Linked DNA regions of Homo sapiens: all the other regions are linked to region 4. Evidence: promoter capture Hi-C in 16 types of primary human blood cells and fetal thymus (Javierre and others, 2016). All regions are on one chromosome and are shown on one strand. The core of a region is centred on a gene start or on the middle of the fragment in contact, and the rest is flanking DNA. Distances in the headings are between cores, read along the strand shown.

What was found. The method cuts DNA at HindIII sites, captures the fragments that hold promoters and counts their contacts. A CHiCAGO score of 5 or more calls a contact.
Region 1: a contact is called between a fragment that was not itself captured here and the fragment with the promoter of BMP6 in region 4, in 7 of 17 cell types (endothelial precursors, M1 macrophages, erythroblasts and 4 more). The highest score is 17.2, in endothelial precursors.
Region 2: a contact is called between a fragment that was not itself captured here and the fragment with the promoter of BMP6 in region 4, in 4 of 17 cell types (endothelial precursors, M1 macrophages, M2 macrophages and 1 more). The highest score is 11.6, in endothelial precursors.
Region 3: a contact is called between a fragment that was not itself captured here and the fragment with the promoter of BMP6 in region 4, in 13 of 17 cell types (naive B cells, naive CD4 T cells, naive CD8 T cells and 10 more). The highest score is 16.8, in naive B cells.

Annotation. Positions count from the first base shown.
Region 1 is chr6:8,043,397-8,046,215 of GRCh38, reverse strand. The region is part of intron 2 of BLOC1S5 (biogenesis of lysosomal organelles complex 1 subunit 5); the gene reads left to right. All of the region lies in intron 2 of BLOC1S5-TXNDC5 (BLOC1S5-TXNDC5 readthrough (NMD candidate)), which reads left to right. All of the region lies in intron 4 of EEF1E1-BLOC1S5 (EEF1E1-BLOC1S5 readthrough (NMD candidate)), which reads left to right. Among named protein-coding and RNA genes, the nearest start is that of BLOC1S5, 20 kb to the left of the region's middle. The HindIII fragment of the contact is 3,648 bases long and covers 1-2,819 here.
Region 2 is chr6:8,085,492-8,088,262 of GRCh38, reverse strand. The region is part of intron 3 of EEF1E1 (eukaryotic translation elongation factor 1 epsilon 1); the gene reads left to right. The region is part of intron 3 of EEF1E1-BLOC1S5 (EEF1E1-BLOC1S5 readthrough (NMD candidate)); the gene reads left to right. It also overlaps SCARNA27. Among named protein-coding and RNA genes, the nearest start is that of EEF1E1, 16 kb to the left of the region's middle. The HindIII fragment of the contact is 2,218 bases long and covers 320-2,537 here.
Region 3 is chr6:8,217,494-8,220,193 of GRCh38, reverse strand. All of the region lies in intron 2 of LOC105374910 (a long non-coding RNA gene), which reads right to left. Among named protein-coding and RNA genes, the nearest start is that of EEF1E1-BLOC1S5, 120 kb to the right of the region's middle. The HindIII fragment of the contact is 1,155 bases long and covers 861-2,015 here.
Region 4 is chr6:7,724,522-7,727,642 of GRCh38, reverse strand. BMP6 (bone morphogenetic protein 6) reads right to left here and starts at 1,544. Exons shown (of 7, transcript NM_001718.6): 1 at 24-1,544. The coding sequence starts at 687. The HindIII fragment of the contact is 3,909 bases long and covers 1-1,819 here.

The sequences.
Region 1 (2,819 bases), core at 159-2,658, 320 kb before region 4:
TGAGAAAGAAGCAAAAGCAGAAACCCCTGATAAGCCCATCAGATCTCATGAGACTTATTCACTGTCATGAGAATAGTATGGGAAAGACTGGCCCCATGATTCAATTACCTCCCCCTGGGTTCTTCCCACAACACGTGGGAGTTCTGGGAGATACAATTCAAGTTGAGATTTGGGTGGGGACAGAGCCAAACCATATAATTCCACCTTTGGCCCCTCCAAATCTCACGTCCTCACATTTCAAAACCAATCATGCCTTCCCAGCAGTCCCCCAAAGTCTTAACTCATTTCAGCATTAATCCCAAAAGTCCACAGTCCAAAGTCTCCTCTGAGACAAGGCAAGTCCCTTTCACCTGTAAGCCTGCAAAATCAAAAGCGAGATAGTTACTTCCTAGATACAATGGGGTTACAGGTATTGGGTAAATACAGCCGTTCCAAATGAGAGAAATGTGCCAAAACAAAGGGATTACAGTGCCCATGCAAGTCCGAAATCCAGTGGGGCAATCAAATTTTAAAACTCCAAAATGATCCCCTTTGACTCCAGGTCTCACATTCAGGCCACACTGATGCGAGAGGTGGATTCCTATGGTCTTGGGAGGCTCCAGCCCTGTTGCTTTGCAGGGTACAGCCTCCCTCCTAGCTTCTTTCATAGGCTGGCATTGAGTGTCTGTGGCTTTTCCAGGTGCATGGTGCAAGCTGTCGGTGGATCTACCATTCTGGGGTCTGGAGGACGGTGGTCCTCTTCCCACAACTCCGCTAGGCAGTGCCCCAGTAGGGACTCTGTGTGGGGGCTCCGACCCCACATTTCCCTTCTGCACTGCCCTAGCAGAGGTTCTCCATGAGGGCCCCACTCCTGCAGCAAACTTTTGCCTGGACACCCAGGCATTTCCTTACATCTTCTGAAATCTAGGCAGAGGTTCCCAAACCTCCATTCTTGACTTCTGTGCACCACAGGCTCAACATTACTTGGAAGCTGCCAAAGCCTGGGGCTTCCACCCTCTGAATTCACAGCCCAAGCTGTATGTCGGCCCCTTTCAGCCACTGCTGGAGTGGCTGGGACATGGGGCACCAAGTCCCTAGGCTGCACACAGCATGGAGGCCATGGACCTAGCCCACAAACCACTTTTTACCCCTAGGCCTCTGGGCCTGTGATGGGAGGGACAGCCATGAAGACCTCTGACATGCTCTGGAGACATTTTCCCCATTGTCTTGGGGATTGACATTTGGCTCCTTGTTACTTATGCAAATTTCTGCAGCCGGCTTGGATTTCTCCTCAGAAAATGAAATTTTCTTTTCTTTTGCATTGTCAGGCTACAGATTTTCCAAACTTTTATGCTCCGCTTACCTTATAAAACTGAATGCCTTTCACAGCACCCAAGTCACCTCTTGAATGCTTTGCTCCTTAGAAATTTCTTCCACCAGATACTCTCAATGATCTCTCTCAAGTTCAAAGTTCCACAGATCTCTAGCGCAAGGAAAAAATGCCACCAGTCTCTTTGCTAAAGCATAACAAGAGTCACCTTTGCTCCAGTTCCCAACAAGTTCCTCATGTCCATCTGAGACCACCTCAGCCTGGACCTTATTGTTCATATCACCATCAGCATTTTTGTCAAAGCCATTCAGCAAGTCTCTAGGAAGTCCCAAACTTTCTTACATTTTCCTGTCTTCTTCTGAGCCCTCCAAACTGTTCCAACCTTTGCCTGTTACTCATTTCCAAAGTTGCTTCCACATTTTCTTCTATCTTTTCAGCCACGCCCCACTCTACTGGTACCAATTTACTGTATTAGTCTGTTTTCACTCTACTGATAAAGACATACCCAAGACTGGAAAGAAAAAGAGGTTTAATTGGACTTACAGTTCCACATGGGTGGGGAGGCCTCAGAATCATGGTGGGAGGCGAAAGACACTTCCTTCTTTTTTTTTTTTTTTTTTTTTGAGACAGAGTCTTGCTCTGTCGCCCAGGCTGGAGAGCAGTGGCACAATCTTGGCTCACTGTAACCCCCACCTCCCAGGTTCAAGCGATTCTCCTGCCTCAGCCTCCTGAGTAGCTAGGATTACAGGCATGCACCACCACGCCTGGCTAATTTTTTTGTATCTTTAGTAGAGATGGGGTTTCACCGTGTTGGCCAGGCTTGTCTCAAACTCCTAACCTCATGATCCGCCCACCTCAGCTTCCCAAAGTGCTGGGATTACAGGCGTGAGCCATCGCGCCTGGCCTGAAAGGCACTTCTTAACATGGTGGTAGCAAGAGAAAATGAGGAAGAAGCAAAAGTGGAAACCCCTGATAAGCCCATCAGAGACTTATTCACTATCAGGAGAATAGTATGGGAAAGACGGGCCCCCATGATTCAATTACCTCCCCCTAGGTCCCTCCCACAACATGTGGGAATTCTGGGAGATACAATTCAAGTTGAGACTTGGGTGGGGACACAGCCAAACCATATCAACACCTCACCCAATTTCTTTCATTATTTTATTTCTTACATTACCATGCTGCATTTGTAAAAGCTAAGAAACCAACATTGATACATTACTGTCAATGAAACACCAGACTTTATTTGAATTTTACCAGTTTTTCTATTACAGTCCCCTTTCTGTTCCAGAATCTCATCTGGGGTACCACATTGCATTGAATGATCATGCCACCTTAGTCTTTGGTCTGTGACAGTTCCTCCGCCTTTCCTTATTTTTTATGACCTTTGCATAAGTCTTGAGTACTGGCTAGGTATCCAATCTGGGTTTGTCTGTTGTTTTTCTCATGACTAGACTGGGGTTATGGGTATTGGGAAAGAATACCACAGAGATGAAGTACCCTTATCGCA
Region 2 (2,771 bases), core at 179-2,678, 360 kb before region 4:
TTTTTCCTTCAATCTTGTCCACTACCTACATGATCAGTCTCTTTATTTTAAATTTGTTCATGAACGATGACATGATACTCACTATGTTCTTGGCACTGTTCTTCATGCTGTACAAATGTTGACTCATTTAATCCTAATAACAGCCATATAGGGTAGGCACTAATAATAGCCCCATTTTACAGATGAGATAACTGAGGCGTAGAGAGGTCAAGTGTTTTCTTTGAGATTGCCCAAGTAAGTGGTGGAACGAGGTCCAGAAACCAGACACTTTGGCCCCAGAATATGTGCTTTGTTATGACCATCTCTCTGCCTACAAGCTTGGCTCAACTCCCCATCACCCCAACACCCATCTTCCCCCTGTGGAAAAAAAAGAACTCATGTGTTTTTGTGCATTGTGCACCTCATGCATCCAGTCAATCAGATCCTGATTTCCAGCTCCTAAATGCCTCTCACATGTGTCTTTTCCTGTGATCCAATGACATTGCCCAAGTTCCAGTATTTAGAATCTTTTGTTCATCTAAAGAGGATGGACTGTAAGAGATGAGCTTGGTGGCCCCTGGAGCAGTCTTTCTCATGACCGTGTCTTTTTCTTTCTCAAAATAATCAACTCAGACAGGCACAGTAGCTCACCCCTGTAATCCCAGCACTTTGGGAGGCCAAGGCGGGCAGATCACTTGAGGTCAGGAGTTTGAGACCAGCCTGGCCAACATGGCGAAACCCCATCTCTACTAAAAATACAAAACTTAGCTGGGCGCGGTGGCTCACGCCTGTAATCCCAGCACTTTGGGAGGCCAAGGCAGGTGGATCACCTGAGGTCAGGAGTTCGAGACCAGCCTGGCCAACATGGTGAAACCCCATCTCTAGTAAAACTACAAAAATCAGCCAGGCGTGGTGGCGCATGCCTGAAATCCCAGCTACTCCAGAGGCTGAGGCAGGAGAATTGCTTGAACCCAGGAGGAAGAGGTTGCCCTGAGCAGAGATCGCACCAAGGCACTCCAGCTTGGGCGACAAGAGTGAAACCCTGTCTTAATTCATCTGACTCCTGCCTCCCTTGCTATCCTCCTTCCCGTCATTCTCTCAGCCACAACATGTGCCCCAGAGCCTGCTGTATGCTGGGCTGTTTCTACCCAGCATCCTTGCATTACTCTTCTCTTTTGTTCCCTGGTCCCAGCCCTTCCCTTCCTCTCCACTTCATTTGCATTTCCCAAGTATCTCTCGGTTCCCACTCATTCCTCGGCTGCATCTCTCTCAGGCGCCTAAACCACATTGAGGTGCTCCTTCCTCTGTGTGTGTTTGTACCTCATGTACACTTCGGGTCTAGCTCATTTCACTCTTACTGTAATTCTTTGAAAATCTCTCTAAATTATAAGCTGTTTGACTCAATGATTGTAGCGACACATATTTGTAACACCATTGTCTGAGGTAATTCCTGGCATGTGTAGGTGGTCACCCCTCCATAAACACTGAATAAATTTTTAAACGTATTTCTCTATGCTTTTCAAGGAGTTTCCTCTATACTTTCTCACTGTACCTCATCACTAAGAAGGAAATAGGACCAGTGTTATTGGCCTTCTTTTACAGAGAAAGAAACTAATGCTTAGGAAACTTGAGTGGTTTAAAGGCACGGCGCTCAGTTTTTGGAAGGGCCAAACTTTCAGATCTTCTGACTGAAGTGTCTTAATGTGTGGGGAAGCTCTTTGTCTTATAAACTGTAAAATACCGTAATAATTGAGGTCTGCGCAGGCCCCAACCTATCCATGGTTTGGGGCTGCTATCTGCCTCATAAAGCAAAGTGGAGGGTTTGTCTTTTGGAAAAACAAAGTCGTTTTCTCCTCTGAAAAAGCCTCCTACATAGTTGGTTTTGCCATTTGCCAAGAATAAGAGGGCACAGATTGAGGCCTCTTGAGTATGGGTTTTCAGTTGAGGTTGAAGAGAGAAGACAGGGATTGTAACCAGAAAATTCAGAATGGAATGCAGTTCCCTCCAGAACTCCTGGGCTTCATGACAGTCATAGAAGTGGATTCCTTTTAGTTTCCCCTCACCCCGCAAACGTACCGTAATAATGCAGGATACAGTTATTAGTTCCCTACTCAAGCTATAATCCCTCAGTTTGAATTTACTTGACTTTATTCTGAATTGTTCCTCAAAGATCCCTCAGTGATTATGTTAAATTCTGTAACATTATTGTAATGGCTTAGAATGATCCTTAATTTAATGTAAAACTATTATGAGTTTTAAATGATTTATTGAGAGCCCACTGTGTATGCCCACTATGCCATACTTGAGAGGGAGACAACAGAAGTATAAAACTATTTTCAGGGGCATATTAATCTTATTGAAGAAATTAGACTGTTTTACATGAAAGCAATTAATGAAGTAGAGAAAATGGAATCCAGTGCTAATCTCTGGTCAGAATATTATGTTATTAATGCATGAGGCAGATAAGTAGAATACAGAATCAGAAAATTGTCAGAAAAATATCTGAAGATTTGGATGGCCTTGGCTGTCTAAGGGAATTTTCATTGTTTTGGAAAGCTTATGATAAGTTTGATTACAAATATTCTTTGTAAATAGGGCGACCACATGATTTCTCATCCAAAACACTTGGCTGTGAAAGGAGGCCTATTAATAATTACATTGGGACAACAGGAGTGAAGTAGAATGAATATTCCCCATACTTACAAAGAATATGATTCAATTTACACAAAATAAGAGACCAAAGAGGATTTGTCTTATTTCTGTTCATCCCCTCTTGGCTTTTAAAACAGTGC
Region 3 (2,700 bases), core at 189-2,688, 490 kb before region 4:
TATATTGTAATAAGTCCTTCCTTCTCAATCTTTTGTCTCTGTGTGTAAGACAGGGCCTCTCTCTGTCGCCCAGGCTGGAGTGCAGTGGTGCGATCAAGGCTCACTGCAACCTCAACCTCCTGGGCTCAAGCAATCCTCCCACCTCAGCCTCCAGAGTAGCTGGGACCACAGCCATGCACCATCATGCTCAGCTAATTTTTGTATTTTTTGCAGACATGGGGTGTCACTATATTGCCCAGGCTGGTCTCAAACTCCAGGGCTCAAATGGTCTGCCCTCCTTAGCCTCCCAAAGTGCTGGGATTACAGGTGTGCACCACCATGCCCACCCTGGGATGGCATTATTTTTATTTCTAGTCCTTAGTTGTATCTGAATGTAATTAAATATCATAGGTATAACACAAATGGCAAATGTCTGTGGATAGACAAGCTGTGAGAAGCATATTAGAGGTGATTGTTTTAATTTTAACGTATTTCCAATCTCCAAACAGAATAATGGTACCTGATGAGTATTCTTTAGAATAAGAAAAATAAATATCTCCAAGGAGGAAAGAATTGGTAGCTGAGGAAATAATGGTTATGTTTTAAATTCGGTTAATACAGGGTTGGGGAAACTCTACTATGTCAATCCATGTTGAACCACCAGGTGGCACACTACTGCCTTCTTTCCACCATTCAACCACAGAAAAAGAAAATGCCGTTGGGAGATGTTGGGTTTAGTTTATTGGTTGCTTTTTACACAGAAAATTCACCAAAACCAACTTAGCCACATGAAGATATGAAGCTACAAGTGGTTCTTTCTCAGCTTTAATATTTTTATTACTATCAGTAGAATTTATATTGCTTTGCTTTTTCTTTAAGCTTTGAGCCATCAAGACGTAAACACACCAACAGAAATGCTAATAAAAACAAGCTCATTGATTACTCTTTACATGAAAGCAGAAACAACTGGGGAAATAATTTTACTTTTCAGAATACTTAAGGATTACCGGCATTTAATACTCTACACGAGCATTTCATATTTGCAAAGTGTATTGTTATATATTTATAAGTAATTACTCACAATAATGAATGTGGTGGCATTTTTTAAAACCCATATGCAATCTAGGTCAAATTCTGAACATTGCACAGATTTCTCTAGCTTTTTGCAACATTTATTCAATGACTTCATTGGCAAACTAACCAGAATCAACCCAATTTTTAAAATACTTTTAACGGAATTCTATGTTTATACTGATTTAGATTCAGCAATTGTCATAATGCCTTACAAATAGTCTTTCCGCCTAAAAGTAAATACGTCTTTAACTCCAGTTTACTGAAAAAAGTACCCTTTTTGCTTACTGAAGTATATCAAACACATTTTGGATTTACCTCAGTTGACTAAGTCCTGGCAATCGGTAAATTAACTAGCACTTTAAACAGAACTTTTAATGTCCATTGATGAAATGGGCTGCACAAATGAGAAATTAGCTTCTTTCAGTTCTAAAATCACAAGGCAGAATGAGGTGAATTCTAGTCCCAGTTTTGCCACCAGCTAGCTGTGTTGCCTCAGGCACATTATTTAAACTCTTTATACCTTCTTTCTCTCAAGTGAAAAATTAAATAAAGTGGAATCTTTCTAAGGTTCTATTTTACTTTTAAAACTGTATGATTTTATTTTTATATTTGAATCTTATATTGTGAAGCATAGTAAAGTATTTCAAAGTAATTCATCAAAGTAGGAAAAGCTAGGAAAAATTCCTAAAGCAATGACCCCCTCGAGTGATGGCAGCAGTGTGCAGACAGCTTGGAGTCTTCTGCATCTCCTCTGATGAGTAAAACCAAGAGCTCTCACCACACAAAGGAAGAGCTCTACACACACCTTTTGCTTTACAATTTCTTCACTTACTCTGGCTAATTGATATCTAGCCACCTCAGAATGAATTCATTAAGCTCTTTCTCTAGCTGTCTTGCACAGAATTTTCAGTAGTATAGATCTGTTTAACAGATTCCAACTGCTGGAACCCACAATGCAAGCTTCCAGAATGATTGATAGCCATAACTTGAGAAATGTATGTTGTGTTCGGTGAAACTCCGTCTCTACTAAAAATACAAAAAATTAGTCGGATGTGGTGGCGGGCGCCTATAGTCCCAGCTACTCGGGAGGCTGAGGCAGGAGAATGGCATGAACCTGGGAGGCGGAGCTTGCAGTGAGCGGAGATCCTGCCACTGCACTCCAGCCCAGGCAACAACGAGACTCTGTCTCAAAAAAAAAGAGAAATGTATGTTGTGTTCATGTAAGATGGTCCTATAGGCACTACATCCCTTTTCTCATAATGCGAATGAAAACGAGTTATTTTCTTATGTTCGAGTTGCATTATATCTCATATATTGAGTTTACAAAAGCAAAAATTCCTGAATCCCTCAAAATTGAGAATGACTATACTTACACTAGCCAGATACAAAATCTCTACTAAGTAAACAGACCCACATGTTTTATTTGCAGACTTATGTTTTTATATCTTCTGTTGGGGAATATGTTTCTTCTTTAAACAAACAAGGGCTTCTTTCCCCATTGATTGTGTACTTCTGATGATGTTTTAAAAAAGACTTTCACAAGGGAGGGATGGGTCCTTAATCAAGACTTTAAAATGAGGGCAATAAATATATTTTATTGGTTATAATACCTTTTTCTTTATTAGAAGGATAACAGACTGCTGGTTA
Region 4 (3,121 bases), core at 295-2,794:
ATTACGTTACCCCAAATCCTTACCCAGGTTCACAAAGCTCATGACCATGTCCGCGTCGTTGAGGAAGGCGCTGTCCTGCGCGCTGGTCAGTGGGGACGCGCCGCCGCTGCCAGATCCGGGGGCCAGAAGGCTCTTGCGGTTGAGCGGGTGCGCGGCGCCCGGGGGCGGCTGCCGACGCTGGGACGAGCTGGCTGCTTCGTGGGGCCAGGACTGCTGCCTCTCCCCCTCCGACGCCCCGTCCTCGTCGTTGTCGGCGGACAGGGCGTTGTACAGATCCAGCATGAAGAGGGGCGCGGACTTCAGTCGCCCGGGAGGGGGCTCTCCGCGAGGCAGCTGCTGCTGCTGCTGCTGCTCCTCCTGCTGCCGGAGCGCCGGGGGCTGCGGCTGTTGGAGGCCGTGCAGGGGCCGGGGCCGGTGCGGGAGCCCCAGCACCGACAAGATCTCCTTCTGCATCTCCCGCTTCTCCTGCGTCTTGAGCCGCCGGTACAGGAAGCCCGAGGAGGACTGCGGCGACGGCGGCGGCTGCTCCGTGCGGCCGGGGCTCCCGCCGTCCCCCAGCAGCTGCCCCCCGGCGGCGGCGGCCGCGGCAGCGGGCAAGGGCGGCCGCAGCGGCGGGGGCCCGCAGCAGCTGCACAGCAGCCCCCACCACCAGCACAGCCACTGCGCCCTCCGCCCCAGCCCCGGCATCCCCGCCCGGCCGGGCTGCCCCCGCGGATCCCGCGAGGCGTGGAGCGGCGGAGCGAGGCCGGAGCGCGGCCGCTGTGGCCCTTGGCGTGAGCAGTCCCCGCCACCTCTCGGCGGGCTCGCTTCCCCTTCCTGGCCCTCAGTCCTTATCTCTCATGGTCGTCCGGGGCGCCCCCAGTTGCCCAGGCTAGAGAGGTGGCGAAGGGGCGATCACCAGGAGAACCGCTTGGAGGGGAGGAAGGGGAGCCTCACAGCCTCGCGCAGGTCTCTAGAGGCGCGCGGTCCAGGCCAGGTGCGTCTGAGTCCGGGCTGCACTGCAGCCTGCGCCCTGGCTCCTGCGAGTCGCGGCGCGGTCACTCTGGGCCTCGCTGGCCGCACACGTGCGCTGCCCCGCGCTCTCCCTGGCGACTGAGTGGGACCCGGGGCAGCGGGGAGCGGGGCCGCTCACGAGCTGCGGGAGATGCCCGGCATCACCGTGGCGCACGCCCCTCCCCAGATCGCAGGGCCACCATGAAGTTTACCCCGTTGCAGGGCCCAGGCTGCGGCGACAAGGCGTCCCGAAATGCCAGTCTATTCCGCGAGGTTTAACTTCCTTCTCGCTCACGAACTCCGCGCCCCTGAGCTCTCGGGCACCGTCGCTCCCACTCAAAATCTCCGCGCGCCGCACGCCTCCTCAAGCGGAGGCGGCGAGGATCTTGCTTTCCGTTCGGCGGTCGCCCGGCTGCCCAGCAAACCCGCTCGCAGAAAGGATGGGAAGGAAGGGGGCTAGTGCACCGAGCAGCGGCCGCGGCGGCGGCGCCGGAATTCGGTCTCCCGCCTCTCCACGCCGCGCTCCCCGCAGCGGCCAACGTGGGCTTTCTGCTGCGCGCCCGGCTCAGGTACCTCACTCCAGCCCCGGGACTCCCCGCCCCGCGGTAACCGACAGGCTGGCAGCCAATGGGGACGCGAAGCTCGCGGGCTATTTAAATAGCCCCGCCCCTTCTTTCACCCTCCCTCTCCCGAGAGGCGTCGCCTCCGCCGCGCGTAGGTTTCAAGACCCGGGAATTCTTGGAGGCATGCGAAGAGCCGCGAGGTGCCAAAGGCGAAGAGGTCATCGCTAGTAAGAATGATCTGACCAATACCCCGATCTGAAGCTTTCTCTTTTACCATCATTTAAAAGGCCTAAGTTGATGCTTTAACTAAATAAAAATAATAACAGCGATTAAATCACTATACTGCCAGAACTGAGGAAGAAAAGAAAAATGATAGCTTTTCCATCCCTTCCTTAGTTTCTCTTATTGATGTAATGTAGGCGTTTAGCGGACACGTGGCTTTCCACGGCAGCTGCTGGAAGTTGGGACACACCCTCCGGGGAGGCTACTCACAAACTGACCACAGAGAGGGCCACATGTAACCCAAGCCAGCGTCCTGAGGGTTTGGGGTCGGATGTGTTGACTTCTCTGTTCATTTGTGCTTTGGTTTGGCTTCTTAAGCTAGCACCCAAAAGAAAGAGGGTGTAATCAGACGATATATTAGAAAAGGCGTCCCCTGTCTTCTTGGAAATGTCTTGATTCTCCAGCTTATCTATTAATGTTGCATTTTAATATTGAAATACAATGTGACTTATATGGTGCAAGATAAAACTTGAGGAGAGGTGATAAAGATAACTCCAGGAAGAGCAGGGGCTTGGCATGCATTCTGAATGGTCAGGACAATAGACAGGGTCCTGAAACACAGGTTCCTGTGGATTTTAGACAAGATAACACCACCACCAACACCATTTGCCAATGAGGACACAAATTCATTTGCCTTTACCCCGCCCGAGAACATCCAGTCATCTATGGATCGTAGAAGCAAATTCACGTAAAACATGAAGGTTTTTTACTTGGTGAAAATTGTGTGGAGTTGAAAATAAAAACTGCAATTTTCTGACTTGCCAGCCTTAGTCCAAATGGTCCTAGGCATTTGAGAGTGAAGTCAAATAGATTATAGACTGTGGGATTCATGAATTTATGAGATCATAGGCTTTCTGTTGGTCCAAATCTTATAAGCATTCCTATCCTATTTCCAAGAATCTATTTCTCATGGGTAAATAGAGACCACCACTGACTCCAACTACCCACTGAGTCCTTCTTTCTAGTTCTGCCTTGGCCCAGACACAAGTGGTCATTTAGAAGAGTCTTTATTTCTACAAATATCTGATAGCTATGAATTTCAGGGCACAAAACTTATGTGAATGCCAGTCTTTAACCATCTCTACAGGGATTTCTTCCATCCGAAAAGATAATACGATACTTTGTCTGGGATGCCCGGACCCTCAGAATTCAAGAGCCCTGTCACTTCTTTTTTCTGTAGGGAACATGTTAGGGACATAAATTCACTGCAGTGCCCCACAGCAGCCAAGAGCTCTGCTCAGAAGATCTGAAATTCCAGCAAATACACCTAGGCTTCCTGCCAA